Linked DNA regions of Homo sapiens: all the other regions are linked to region 1. The links are contacts of gene promoters, found by promoter capture Hi-C in blood cells and fetal thymus (Javierre and others, 2016). All regions are on one chromosome and are shown on one strand. The core of a region is centred on a gene start or on the middle of the fragment in contact, and the rest is flanking DNA. Distances in the headings are between cores, read along the strand shown. Region 1 holds the start of RNF212 (ring finger protein 212). Region 2 overlaps UVSSA (UV stimulated scaffold protein A). Region 3 overlaps MAEA (macrophage erythroblast attacher, E3 ubiquitin ligase).

Region 1 (4,792 bases), core at 872-3,371:
TCGCTTTGCCTGATGGTAGCAAATAAAATATACGAATAGGTCAAATTCCTGATATTTTACACCAAAATACAAAACCATCTTTTATAAGGTTGATTTTTACTCTCTTATACTTGGCTAAGCAACAGATTCTGGTTTAGAAAAGCAGACTGCACGGATACGTTGGTGTAAGATATTAATTGGGTAATATTAAATACCTTGAATGCCCACAACAACCCTCCCCTCAAAATCGTGAGTTAAGTACTTTATGACACTAAACCTACTTCTTTTCCGCATAGGACCGTGAAGAAAATTTTCGAACGACCAGTGAAGATACAAATAGCAATGTTTTATGGTGGGCTTTTGCACAAATATTAATCTTTATCTCAGTCGGAATTTTCCAAATGAAGTACCTGAAAGACTTCTTTATAGCTAAGAAGATTGTTTAAAATATTATCAATAAGGACAAATAATCTGCATAATGTTTGAGTTAATAAATCAAAATACCTGCATATATGTGTATTATTTTTATGATTTCAAAGATACCAGAGATTGAGATTAACGTTATATCATTATAACATTGAGAGAATGCTTTTATAATGCAGCTTCTGAATTTGATAGATTAGGCACCTCATCCTATTCTTAAACTTATTTTTGAGACTGAGTCTCGCTCTGCTGCACAGGTGCCGTCAGGCTCACCACAGGCTCGATCTCCAGGGCCCAAGCAATCCTCCCACCTCAGCCTCCCGAGTAGCTGGGACCCCAGGGGCCCACCACCACACCCAGCTAATTTTTGTATTTTTTGTAGAGACGGGGTTTTGCCACGTTGCTGGTCTTGCTATTTTAAACTTGGTAGAGATCAGCACTGTCTAACAGAAATAAAAGTGGGCTACATACATAATTCTAATTTGCTGTTGTTGTTGTTGAGACGAAGTCTCACTCTGTTGCCCAGGCTGGAGTGCAGTGGTGTGATTTCGGCTCACTGCAACCTCCGCCTCGTTCAAGCGATTCTCCTGCCTCAGCCTCCGGAGTAGCTGGGATTACAGGCGTGAGCTACCGCACCCAGCCCATACGTAATTCTAAGTTTTCTAGTCTCCACATTGAAAAGGATTTTTTGAAAGGGTAAAATCAACGCTACTGATATATATTTAACCTAATATATCAAAAATATCATGTTAACATGTAATCAATATAAAATTACTAAGAAGGTTTTCATACGAGGCCCTGGAAACAGCTGTATTTTACTCACATCTTTCGGGGCGCAGGGGTCACTTGGCCCGTAGCTACCGGGAGCGCTCACCCTGCGCTCTCCCGGCACAAGCACTTGCCTGAGCCTCTCGATCCGAGCTTTGCAGCGTCCCAGCGGGTGGAAACTCTCAAAACCACGCAGAGGACAATTTTATAAAAAGTCACTTCCCCATGCTGGAACCTGGAAGCAGCAGAGGTCCTTCCCGAGCTACGCCTTCCGTTTCAGAGGGAAGCAGGCTCAGGCCTCCCGTGCTGAGGTCTCTGCGCCAGCGGCCACCTGGACACTAGTCCCAAAGCGTGCAGCGCGGCCTGGCCCCCACCCCCAACTGCCCCCCCCACCCCCACCGCCTCATCACACCCCACCCCCACCGCCTCACGCCCCCACACCCACCCCAACTCCCACATCCCCACTCCCGCTCCCACCCCAACTCCCACACCCACTTATCCCTCCCTCCCTCCTATCCCGCTCCCCGGGCCCCCAGGGCCCCCACGCCCACTCTCCCCTACTCCTCCCCTGCCTCGCCCAGCGCACTACCCTGGCCGCCCTGGCCTCCGGCCCAGCTCCCGGCCCTCAAGGTGGGCCTGGCCCGCATCCCCCGCCCTCGGCGCTCCCCCTCCCCCTCCCCCACTGCTGTCGCGCCGCGACGCCTCCTCAGCGCAGCCGCCATTCCCCGCGCCCGCCACCCAGGCCCGGCTTCCACAAAACACCTGAGGACCGCCAAGACAGGGGCGGGACGTTGGTGCTCGCGGTGCGTTCCTCCGCCTACTCCAGCCCAAACGACCTGGGAGACGAGTCACACGCGCCCTCCCAGGTGCTGCGGGAGAACCCGCGAGGTTGGCGGGAGGGCGCGAGCTCCAGTGCGCGGGCGCAGGGCTGCCGTCGACTTTGCGCAGGCGCAGAGCTGCCCGCCTTCGGGCCCTGCGCGGGGAGGCTGGTCCCAACCTTGCGTGGGCTTCGCGTGGGCCCGGCCTCGCCGCTGCGGTCGCCCGCCTGGCATGGCCAACTGGGTGTTCTGTAATCGCTGCTTCCAGCCGCCCCACAGGACGTCGTGCTTCAGCCTCACCAACTGCGGGCACGTGTACTGCGACGCCTGCCTCGGCAAAGGTCAGGGCTTCCCGAACGCAGGCTGGAGAGGGGAGGGGAGCGGCAAGGGGGTCAGGGAACTCCGGGGGATGGGGGACTTGGGTGGGAGGGCCATGGGGGCACGTGGGGGGCTGCGGAGGAGAGAGGGCGCGTGGAGAAGGGGGAGGGGGCAGGGGGAGGGGGATGCCAGGGGAGAGGCCGCGAGGAGCAGGGGAACTCTGAGGGGAGGGGGACCTGGGGTGGAGGGGCCGCGGGGGCGCGTGGGGGGCCGAGGGGGAGAAACGGCGCATGGAGCGGGGGGGGCATGGGGGGGTGAGAGGCCGCGGAGGTAGGGGTATTCGGAGGAGGGGCCACCGGGGAGTGGGGGCCGCGGGCGTGATGAGGGGCCCGTGGGGAGAGGGGGACACTGGAGAAGCGGTGGGGAGGGAGCGGGGGAGTGAGGGGCTGCGGGAGGGTGGGGAAAGAGGGGACGCCGGAGGTGGTGGGGGGCTGCAGGGAGGAAGGGGACGCCAGAGGAGGGGGGCAAGGTGGGGGATGTGGGGGGTCAAGGCTTGGGGGGGAAGGGGGATACCGAGGAGATGGGGGGAGGGGAGACGCCAGGGGAGGAGGGCGTGGGGGAGGGTCCGCAGGCAGGAAGGGGCCGTGGAGGGGAGGGGCCGCCGGGGGGAGCGGGATGCAAGATGAGGGGGACACAGGGGTCGGGCCACGAGTCCTGTCAGTCGGGGGCTCTGGCTTGCAGGCTGCGGGTCCGCCTGGAGGACCTGGGGGAGAAGCGGGCAGGCGGCAACCTTAACGCCAGTGGAGGACTCTGGCCCTATTCCATGGGCAGCGCGGGGCCCTGGTGTCAAGTGGACAGTCGCATTGTCAGGGAGGCGTTTTTCTTTCTGTGAAAATTTTGTGTTGAACTGATGTTTATGCAAGAACAAAAGCAAAAACACAGTGAGCTTTTACCAAGCGAACTTCCCCGTGAAAGCAGCCAGCTGGGTGCCGGTGGCTCACAGCCCTCCAGCCCCAGGGGACGCCAGCTGTGCTGACCTCCATCCTCGGAGTTGGCCTTAGACCCATGGAGCCTTAGTGAATGCAGCCCTACAACCAGCCCTACAGCAAAGCCGCTTTCTGTGGCTCCCCATCTTTCTTCCTTTTTCTCCCTTCCTTCTCTTTGCCTCTTTCAAGGCAGAGCTCAGCTTTGTCGCCCAGGCTGGAGTTCGGTGGCGGGATCTCGGTTTACTGCAGCCTCCGCCTCCCAGGCTCAAGTGATTCTCCTACCTCAGCCTCCAGGGTAGCGGGGCTACAGGCATGTGCAGCCACGCACCCCTGATTTTTTTAATTTTTCACAGAGATGGGGTCCCTTTGTTGCCCAGGATGGTCTCCAATTCCTGTCCTCTAACAATCACCGGCCTTGGCCTCCCGAAATGTGGGATTAGCAAAGTTTATCATTGTATTTGTATGTAACTGTAGTTCATCTACTTTCATTGTTGTGTGGTGTTCCATTGTATGGATACACCCCAAGTTACTCATCGTTTCCACTGTCCATGGCCCTTTGGGTTGTTTGCAGATTTGGCTGCAGAAATAATGCTACTGTGAATCTTCTTGCTCCTGTCTTCGGTGATCTTAGGTACACATTTCTGTTGGGTGTGTAACCTGGGAGTGGAGTTGTTGATTTCAGGTGTGTATTTAAAAACAAAAGTGTCTCGGGCAGCGAGGTGAAAAGTAGATTGGAGGGAGATAGAAACTGTGGGAGAGACTGCAGCTGAGCACATGAGAGGTGATGGGGAGAAGTGATAGGTTCAGGAGAAGTTAGGTAGATTCAGCAGACATGAGTCGGAGACAAGGGCTAGAGAACTGGACAGGGTTTCACTGCTAGACAAAACACTGGAGAGGAGCCCAGCGGGAGGGAACCCAGCAGGGTGGGGCACAGCAGGGTGGGGTGCAGGGCCCCTGAGCTCATGTCTGGACACGGCCTGTATCCTGTGAGAGCCATCCAGGGGAAGACAAGAGGCAGTTGCACATGTGGGTCTGGAACTCAAGACAGCCAGGAACACATTTGGGGAGCGATTAATACGGGATAATAATCCTATAATCCTAGATATTGGAGTGTGGAGAGCCCCAAAGGTGAAGGAAACTAGAAGAGACTATCTTGTTGGAAAGAGCATTTGTTGAAGGAGGTAAAGAAGATGTCAGGTAAAAAAGAGATGTTGATGAACTGGACATCCCAGTGAAGTCAAGGAATTGGTGTTTGAAAGTGTCCATTGGACCAGTGAGGAGGGCACTGGTGACCCAAGATAATGTTCCCCGAAGATAACATTGTTAGGAATGATGGAGACGCGTGTGCCTTCGTGGTGCTGGGAAGTGTGAAGACAGGGCTCAGAGCGTCATAGCTTTTGAGGTCAGCATACTCTGCGTTGGCAGGTGACTGGTTAAGGGCCTGGGGCAGGTATAGATTCACAGGTTTGCCTAGCTCTTAAAGCCTGAGGTCAACACAGA
Region 2 (4,792 bases), core at 505-3,004, 240 kb before region 1:
CTCTGCACACGTCCCTCCACCCACAGGTCCCAGGTTCGAGGCTCACCTGGATCCACGAGCACACAGCCGGCAGGAACTTGTTCCGGATGAGCTTGAGTGTGTCGCGGGCGGCGTGGATGAGAGCAAGGTTGTCCTCGTTCTCCTGCACCTTCAGGCCCTCTGGGGAGAAGCACACAGAGGTCACAAGAGGGCGCCGACTGGCGTCTCCCACAGGCCCCGGAGAGGCAGACCATGCAAGGAAGGCTGCTCTAGCCTGAGGGGAACCTGCCAGACGCCCATGCCTGCCCCCGGGAATCCCAAACCTGATGCTGTGAGAAGGAAGTGTTTTATTATCTTAGAAAAGAACACTGTGGCTTAACACCAAAGCCTCCCCTCACACGCAGCTCCACTGCCTGTGTCTCAGTCTCCTTGGCTGCAGCCATCCCATCTGGAGGGCGAGACCACCCACAGCCTCTTCTACTCACCGCCCCCACACGCCGGGCACAGAACCTTCCCCTCCACAGCCCACGCCACAGGATGGCGCCCCTCCAGCCCAGCCTCACCAGCCCCCACCCCCCCGGCCTCTCCTCCGCTGGACACCCCAACTCCAGTTCTGCCCTGCCGTGGCTTCCCCCGCTGTGGCACCCTCAGTGTCCGGCGCAGGGCAGAGCTCTATACAGGCGAGGACAGCCCAGGCTTGCAGCAGCGGTGTCCACCCCGCACAGGCCTGCAGCCTCACTGCTGAGGCACCTCTGGGCAGCTGAGACCCGAGGATCAGTTCTCCCAGCAGCTTCCCAGCCCGGCTGCCTCCTGGCCCTGGTGAAGGGACACCTGCTGTGCCTGCTTCCAAAGAAGAAGGTTCCTCAAAGAGAGCGATTTGAAGCCACACACATACGCAAAGGGCCCCAGCCTCCACTCACACCCCAGGGGGGCAGCAGGGGGCTTGGGAGGAAGCTGGGGCTGGGGGGCGGGGGCGGCTATGTCTCTGCAATCCTCACCCACCCAGGCTGCAGTGCCAAGGCTGCCCGTGGCCATTTCTGGAACACATTTTCCTCCCAGCAAGGGCCGGTGCTACCTGACCCCTCATGGCGACACGGGACCCTGACAGGCCTGTGAGCTGACGGGATGCCCACACAGCCTGCCCAGGGATCCAGTCACTTGGAGGTCAGGCCTGTGCTCCCTCATCCTTTGAGGACCGCAACAGCCTCACGACCCCACCTCACCCCAATCCTGTGGGTCCTTACTCTGCCCACAGCCTCACTGAGGTGGGGGCTGCCATGAGCTCTTAGAAGTGTCCCTGTGGCCACAGAGGCCTGGCATGGGTGGGGGGAGCCCAGTGCAGAGGCCACACAGAAAGGAAAAACCTGGTGGTGACCCCTGACCTAGCTCCCCAGGGGAGGCCCCTGCATCCCCAGGCTCCTGGGCCGGGTGCCAGTGAGGGAGGAGCCTACCCGGGAGCCGGGGCAGGGTGGCGCCACAGAGACCCCGCGAAGGCAGTTACCTGAGCAGAGCTCCACATCCAGCGTGTACTTGTGCGAGCCCAGCCCGTGGCTCCGCACAAACTCCTCGAGGTCGCTGTCCTCGTCCTCATCTGAGGGGTCACCTGTGGCTGTCTGGGATGGCTGTGCCCCGCCGCCCGCTCTGGGGTGGCCTGCAGAGGCAGGCAGGTCTCTACTGCAGCAGGGCTGCTCCCCGTCCCGGGGGTCAGGGGTGCCAGACCGGCAGGGGCCCACCTGGCCCGCGCAGGAGGAGCGAAGGGCATCGGACATGCCAGAAGCCATGCCAAGGGATTCCGTCTCCGGGTTCGGGTCAAAGTCAAAAGGCACCAGCAGCCTAAAGCAGCTCTCTACCTCCGTCAAGCAGGATTCAATTTCTCCAGACATTTCTGCCGGAAGATCAAGACACCTGTTTGCTGCGCTATGTGGAGCAAAAGCACCAGCCCACTCAAAACCACACTCAGAGGCCCACTCCCCGCAGGGTGTCACTTTTCAGCACCAGGTGGAATGCAGTGGTGCAATCACAGCTCACCCCAGCCTCGACCTTCCAGGCTCAGGTAGTGCAGCCGCCTCAGCCTCCTGATTAGCTGGGACTACAGACACGTGATGCCATGCTCAACTAACTTTTCTGTAGAAACAGGGTCCTGCTATGTTGCCCAGGCTGGCTTTAAACTCCTGGACTCAGGCGATCCGCCTGCCCTGGCCTCCCAAAGTGCCGGGATGACAGGCATGAGTCACCGCGCCCAGTCGTGTGCTGCACTTTTTAACCGCTTACTAGAGCACCCAGCTCAGCAGCTGGGCCTGCAAGGCAATCTCTGTGTACCTCTGGGTAGCAAGCACGAGTGCGCAGGGGAGGTCAGCCCACCTGCACTTCCCAGGACACGGCTGCACCTCTTCCCTAGGGCAACAAAACAGCCTCGTTCATGCCACACCTCCCGGGCCGGAGCAGCTTTCCTCCTGGCAGCCTCCTCATTGTCTGGGCACCCAGCTGCCTGCCTTGTGAGCTGCCCTGAGGCCTGCGTTTCCAGTGGCCTGTGGCAGGTCCCACACCTGGGACCACAGTCTGTCAGGAGAAGGATCTGGGGTACATGTAGTCTGAAGACACAGGGCCGTGCCTCCGCCCACATCAGGAGGTGTCTCAGGAGGGCCGTGGCACCCCCTCCTCACACTCTCGTGGTGCCCCTCACAAGAAAGGCTGACTGCCGAGAAGCAAACAGTGAAGTTTTGGGGAAGGGGCTGGCAAGGGCAAGACAGCCACAAAATAAACAGGTGGCAGGGCCTTCAGCCAGGCTGGGGCTCAGACCACTGCCCACAGGCACACCTGTGCCTGGCATCTCTGCCCAGAGGTCCGCGCAGCGAACGGGCGTGGATGAATGTGACCACCAGAGGGCGCGGGAGAGGCATGGACAGCCTGGGAGGCCTACGGCTAAGAACGCCTTCCGGCCCGACCTGAATCCTCTCCACCTAGCCTGTCTCAAAACCTGGGTTCCTTGCGGCTGGGGCCCTGGGACCAGGAGGATGAACTGCTGGACCACGGGCAACCCTCAGAGGCGTGGGCCCCTCCCTCCGTCCTGGACACTTGCCTTGCATCTCCCTCTCCGCCTGGCTGGCTCTTTCTTGATAAATTTTATCCAAGTGCTTCTGCTTCTCCTCTTCTCTCTTCCTTTCTGCCAGACTCCGAGCATTCGTGTCTTGAAAATCCACCTGAGCAATTGAAAATAAAGACTAGGGGACAGGCGCGGTGGCTCACGCCTGTAATCCCAGCACTTTGGGAGGCTGAGGCAGGCAGATCACGAGGTCAGGAGATCGAGACCATCCTGGCTAACACGGTGAAACCCCATCTCTACTAAAAATACAAAAAAAAAATTAGCCAGGCGAGGTGGCGGGCGCCTGTAGTCCCAGCTACTTGGGAGATTGAGGCAGGAGAATGGTGTGAACCCGGGAGGCGGAGCTTGCAGTGAGCCAAGATCGCACCACTGCACTCCAGCCTGGGCGACAGAGCGAGACTCTGTCTCAAAGAAAAAAAAAAAAAGAAAGAAAATAAAGACTAGGGCTGGCCCAGCACAGTGGCTCATGCCTGTCACCCCAGCACTTTGGGAGGCCGAAGCAGGTGGGTCACAAGGTCAGGAGATTGAGACCATCCTGGCTAACACGGTGAAATCCCATCTCTACTAAAAATACAAAAATTAGCCGGGCGTGGTGGGGGGTGCTTGTAGTCCCAGCTACTTGGGAGGCTGAGGCAGGAGAATGGCGTGAACCCGGGAGGTGGAGCTTGCAGTGAGCTGAGATCGCACCACTGCACTCCAACCTGGGCAACAAAGCAATACTCCATCTTAAAAACAAAAAATAGCCAGGTGTGGTGGCGTGTGCCTGTAGTCCCAGCTACTTGGGAGGCTGAGGCAGGAGGATCACTTGGACCAGGGAGGCGGAGGTTGCAGTGAGCCGAGATCGCGCCACTGCACTCTAGCCTGGGTGACAAACCAAGACCCTGTCTCAAAAACAACATCATCAACAACAACAACAAAAACTAGAGCTATCTATACAGAATGTGAGGAAGATAAAGCTCAAGTAGGCCTAACAAAAGACAGCACCCATGCGTGGCCAAGAGCCCTATGCGTCTGTAAGTTCACAGTAGTTTTTTTTTTTTTTTTTAAGAGACAACGGTCTTGCTGTGTTACCAAGGCTGGACTCAAACTCCCAGGACCAGGTGATCCACCAGCCTCGGCTTCCAGAGTCAGTGGGACTGTGGGTGTGCACCCTCACACCCAGGTGTTCACAGTGCATTACAACAAAACACAATGCACGTCTCTCTGCTGTCTGAGCCCGGGAAAGCCAGCACGTCTGCTAACTTAAAAGAGGTGACGAGACTTCTCACCCCAAGTACCTCACAGGTAGGAGAGCAGTGTGCTTGTTCCATTAGCAGGCAGAGGCTGCTGACTGGACCCAGGAGTCTGAAACAAACCCTGAGCATGAACCCTGGGAGACAGGGCACTCCAAGGGCACACAGGGAAGCCAGCAGGGCTGGGTCATTGCACTGGGGAGGACTGAGCCTTCGTGGCAGGTGGGGTAAGGGGCACGGTAGGGTCTGGGCAATGAGGCTGGGTTCAGGCCACAGTGGCAGATCCTGGTGGGTTTCATCATGCCAGGCACCAGCCCGAGCCCATAGTAGGGTGCGGGTGGAGCCTTAAAGTGCAAGGTTGGGACAGGTCCCAGAGTCCAGGGGCCACTGTCACAGAAAACGTTGCATCTGAAAAGTTGGATTTGGCTTTTCCTTTGTCTCCTACACGCACATAAAAAATGACACATGCAGCCTCAGC
Region 3 (4,792 bases), core at 1,132-3,631, 220 kb before region 1:
CACTGTCGGGGGAGTGCTGACTTCTCTGATTTCAAAATACTGTGGGGCCAGTTCTGACTTAAGTCTCTGATTTCAACACGCTGTGAGGCCAGTGCTGACTTAACGCTCTGATTTCAACACCTGCAGGACAAGGGCTGACTTAACTCTGATTTCAACACTCTGCGGGACGAGTGCTGGAACTCTCTGATTTCAACATGCTGCAAGGCCAGTGCTGATCTAACTCCCTGATTTCAACATGCTGCGGGATGAGTGCTGACTTAACTCTGATTTCAACACACTGCAGGGCAGGTGCTGACTTAACTCTGTGATTTCAACACACTGCAGGGCAGGTGCTGACTTAACTCTGTGATTTCAACACACTGCAGGGCAGGTGCTGACTTAACTCTGATTTCAACACACTGCAGGGCAGGTGCTGACTTAACTCTGTGATTTCAACACACTGCAGGGCAGGTGCTGACTTAACTCTGTGATTTCAACACACTGCAGGGCAGGTGCTGACTTAACTCTGATTTCAACACACTGCAGGGCAGGTGCTGACTTAACTCTGTGATTTCAACACACTGCAGGGCAGGTGCTGACTTAACTCTGTGATTTCAACACACTGCAGGGCAGGTGTTGACTTAACTCTGTGATTTCAACACACTGTGGGGCCAGTGCTGACTTAACTCTGTGGTTTCAACACGCCATGGGGCCAGTGCTGACTTAACTCTGTGATTTCAACACACTGTGGGGGCCAGAGCTGACTTAACTCTGTGGTTTCAACACGCCATGGGGCCAGTGCTGACTTAACTCTGTGATTTCAACACACTGTGGGGCCAGTGCTGACTTAACTCTGTGGTTTCAACACGCCATGGGGCCAGTGCTGACTTAACTCTGTGATTTCAACACACTGTGGGGCCAGTGCTGACTTAACTCTGATTTCAACACACTGTGGGGCCAGTGCTGACTTAACTCTGATTTCAACATGCCACAGGGCTGGTGCTGACTTAACTCTGCTACACTCACTTGTGAATCAACTTGAATGATCTGGAATGTGTGCAACCTGTGCACTGTGACAAAAAATAGACTCACACAGCTGGAAGGACAGCTCAGTGCAGAGTGCACCTCAGAGCATTAGGTGTAAAAACTCTTACTTCAGAGAAATCATGTATGAAATGGAAAACAACCGGTCCATGTTAGGTTAAAGCATCACAGAACAGAAAATTAAACCTGATGAATGTCTGTCCCTAAATAACCTCAGGTTTAGACTTAAGAGAGAGAGCGTGTGTGAGCACAGGAGAGAAAAACCTTCACATCAACCCAGAAAGGCCGCTCAGTCTCTAGCTTGGGGGGAGACGGCCACACCTGGAGGGAGGGGAGGTGGTCATCAGGGGACGTCACCCATCAGTCTCTGTAAGCTTCTCAGTCTCAGTTTAGGGTAAACACCACACTTAACTCCAACATTTTTAAAGGCTGTTTTAAATCTCATTTTTGTCTAAAAATCAAAGTCTACAAGGGAGGAAGCCCACAGTCCAGAAGGTCCTCACTGAGAAGAACAGCTCCTGGCATCCTCACTCCCCAGGACTGGTTGCCTCTGGGCTTCTGGTGGCTTCTGCCATTCTCTGAACAAAATGCTTCCTTCTGTTTCTTGCCTGACCCATGGCAACGGGGCCCATTTTCCTGCCACGAGACACGGTTGTGCCCCCTGAATCTGGCAACAGATGAGCCTTGGGGCTGGCACTGCCTGCCTCCCTCTTTACCACACTGCAGGGCTGCGTCCGGTGAGAGGTGCATGCTCCACCCGGCCTAGGCCCGAAGTCTCAGCCCCCTGTATGGGTCAGCCTTTCCTGCATTTCTAACAAAATCCTCTCCAGAGCAAGCGAGAGAAACAAGGTGCCAACTCACAGTCTGGGAAGCTCAGACCCCACCCCTGAAGATCCTCGTGACCTAATGATGATTTATTATGAGATGCCCCAAACGCCTGAGAACCAGGAGAATTCAGGCTGAGCTTCCAGCAGCTTTCAGAAGGCAGCAGGTCTGGGACTGCCCAGGGCTTTGCAGTCCCTACAGGGTGGCAGGTGGGGGCTGCCGGGAAACACCCCGGCCTCTGACAGAGACTGGTGCCAGGCTCAGAGAACAAACTGTCAACTCCAGGAGGTTTTATCTGCTTCCCCCTTTTCCAGGAACTGAAACTGTTCCCAGTGTGATGAGCACAGGGGTGGGCATGGGGGTGGATGCAGGGGTGAGCACATGGTGGGCATGGGGTGGGCATGGGGGTGAGCACGGTAGGCATGGGATGGGTGCAGGGGTGAGCACACGGGCATGGGGGTGGGTGCAGGGGTGAGCACATGGTGGGCATGGGGTGGGCATGGGGGTGAGCACGGTAGGCATGGGATGGGTGCAGGGGTGAGCACACGGGCATGGGGGTGGGTGCAGGGGTGGGCACATGGGCACGGGAGTGGGCATGGGGGTGAGCACAGGTGGGCATGGGGGTGGGCATGGGGTGGGTGCAGAGGTGAGCACGGGCATGGGGGTGGGCAGGGGGGTGAGCACACGGTGGGCATGGGGTGGGTGCAGGGGTGGGCACATGGGCACGGGAGTGGGCATGGGGGTGAGCACAGGTGGGCATGGGGGTGGGCATGGGGTGGGTGCAGAGGTGAGCACGGGCATGGGGGTGGGCAAGGGGGTGAGCACACGGTGGGCATGGGGTGGGTGCAGGGGTGGGCACGGGTGCAGAGTGGAGCCACTCACCCAGGAGCAGCCAGCTGCTGGGTTGGGGCCAGGTCTGAGCACAGGGTGCCTGGTTAGTGATGGCAGAACCCCCAACCCTACCCCAGTGACCGCGGAGAGTCGGAGGCTCCAATATTTACAGATAAAATACAAAGCGTCAGCAAGAGAAAGAACCACGGAAGACGGTGCAGCCTAACTCCTGACTCAGGGGCTGTAGAGAAAGGAGAACCAGGGGGACAGGCAAGGAAGCTGGGCCCCGGCTGAACGCTCCAGGCTGAAAGGCTTCCTGAACCTTTCTCAACTGCTTTTTTTTTTTTTGGAGACAAGGTCCTGCTCTGTCACCCCAGCTGGAGTGCAGTGGCACAATCTTGGCTCACTGCAGCCTCAACCTTATGGGCTCAAGTGATCCTCCCACCTCAGCCTCCTGGGTAGCTGGACTATAGGCAGGTGCTACTATGCCCAGCTAATTTTCAAAAAAATTTTTTTTGTAGAGGTGGGGTCTCACTATGTTCCCCAGGCTGTTCTCAAACCCCTGGGCTCAAGCAGTCCTCCCACCTCAGCCTCCCAAAGTGCTGGGATTCCAGGGGTGAGCCACCACACACAGCCCTGATTCAAATTTCTTATGAGCAAAATGGGAGTCAAACAAGAAAAGCTTGTCTTGGCAGGCTGGACAGGCTGTGTGGCTGGGATGGGGCCCTCACGTCCCGCCCCACGTGTGGAAGCAGCTACAGACCAGAGACACACCCTGGATCCCCACCCCAGCATGACACCGACCCCAGGGACGCACGCCCTACCTTGTACGGGGAGATGTGCGTGTCGGGCGGGAAGGCCAGCATGCCCATGGCCTGGCGCACCTCGTCCAGCTGGCTCCCTTCTGCTTGGCTGAAGTGCTTTCTTGCATGTCTAAAAAACAACATTTTGGCACATTTAAGTTTGCGTTTTAATTTTAACTTTTAGAGACAGGGTTTCACTCTGTCACCCAGGCTGCAGTGCAGTGGCACAGTCACAGCTCACTGTAGCCTCGAACTCTCAGGCTCAGGCGATCTTCCCGAGAAGCTGAGACCGCAGATGTGCAGCACCACACCTAGCTAATGTAAAAAACATCTTGTTAGAGACAGATTCTCGCTGTGTTGCCCAGGCTGGTCTCCAACTCCTGGGCTCAAGCCATCTTCCTGCCCCGGCCTCCCAAAGTGCTGGGATTATAGGCATGAGCCGCTGCACCCGGCCTGCATTTTTAAGTTGAAAAATCTGAGCTAACAGCTTTTATGTCAGAGTCTAGGTACAAAGTAATCGCCTCACTCCAAGCCGACCTGCTGGGTGGGGCTGGGATGGCGGGAGGTGCGGCTCACCAGAGGCTGGAGGAGCAGCTACCAGACACTCCTTCCTCCAGGGGACCAGGGCACCCAAGCCACACAGACAACCCACGGAAAACACCAGAACTGCAAATGGCACCTGCCCCCGAGGGCTCTCCAAAGCGATTCTGGTTTACAAGGAACCCAAACCCTGAGGATTCCCACTCTCCCCAGATGCTCGCCCCCACGGACCCCGTGGCCCCAGCGGACCAAGAACGTGTAGTCTTCTCAACTGCAGTCCTTGCTGTTTGGCAGTGACGCCCAGCACAACCTTCCGAAGAACAGCCTCCCTCAGCCCACAGGCTGGACTCCCTGCAGATCCGGCCCAGCCCTCTCAGCCCTGAGCGTGCCACACACCACATGCAGCCACGATCTTTCCTGAGCCAACTCTGCGGGATGCACACAGGCCTACTCCAGGCCAGAACCCCACTCCAGTCTAAGGCTGGGCAACCAAGAAACCAAAGCAGAACATAACAGATCCCTTTCAAGCTGACCAGCGGGCACCTGCTCACCCCCAGGGCCCCCATTCTCATGCCCCCCCCCACACACAGGGTCACTGTCCCTCTGGCTGTCCTGAGGGCCTGCACCCCCATGTCCTGACCCTCACACGGGCCCCTGTGCACCCCACGTTCTCAGCCCTCAGGGCCCCTCTGCCAAAGCGACCCCAATGCACAGAACCAGGGGCCTCAAGTCCCATGTGTGAGTCAGCCCTGTGCTGTCCAGAACAAGGC

Evidence for each region. Contacts are between HindIII fragments. The CHiCAGO score rates a contact against its expected background, and 5 or more counts as called.
Region 2: a fragment that was not itself captured here is called in contact with the fragment with the promoter of RNF212 in region 1 in 7 of 17 cell types (naive B cells, total B cells, total CD8 T cells and 4 more); the score reaches 11.0 in naive B cells.
Region 3: a contact is called between a fragment that was not itself captured here and the fragment with the promoter of RNF212 in region 1, in 1 of 17 cell types (naive B cells). The highest score is 7.4, in naive B cells.

What each region holds. Positions count from the first base shown.
Region 1 is chr4:1,110,893-1,115,684 of GRCh38, reverse strand. RNF212 (ring finger protein 212) reads left to right here and starts at 2,121. Exons shown (of 10, transcript NM_001131034.4): 1 at 2,121-2,329. The coding sequence starts at 2,221. It overlaps LOC124900647 (nascent polypeptide-associated complex subunit alpha, muscle-specific form-like), which reads right to left and starts at 2,046. Exons shown (of 3, transcript XM_047416477.1): 1 at 1,933-2,046. LOC105374344 (a long non-coding RNA gene) reads right to left here and starts at 2,046. Exons shown (of 3, transcript NR_134676.1): 1 at 1,933-2,046. It also overlaps the pseudogene TMED11P. The HindIII fragment of the contact is 6,439 bases long and covers 1-4,792 here.
Region 2 is chr4:1,350,102-1,354,893 of GRCh38, reverse strand. UVSSA (UV stimulated scaffold protein A) reads right to left here. Exons shown (of 14, transcript NM_020894.4): 4 at 3,059-3,179; 5 at 1,481-1,864; 6 at 47-159. Among named protein-coding and RNA genes, the nearest start is that of UVSSA, 5.3 kb to the right of the region's middle. RefSeq lists a silencer at 3,775-3,943. The HindIII fragment of the contact is 6,115 bases long and covers 1-4,792 here.
Region 3 is chr4:1,331,577-1,336,368 of GRCh38, reverse strand. MAEA (macrophage erythroblast attacher, E3 ubiquitin ligase) reads right to left here. Exons shown (of 9, transcript NM_001017405.3): 6 at 3,504-3,612. Among named protein-coding and RNA genes, the nearest start is that of UVSSA, 13 kb to the left of the region's middle. The HindIII fragment of the contact is 1,964 bases long and covers 1,400-3,363 here.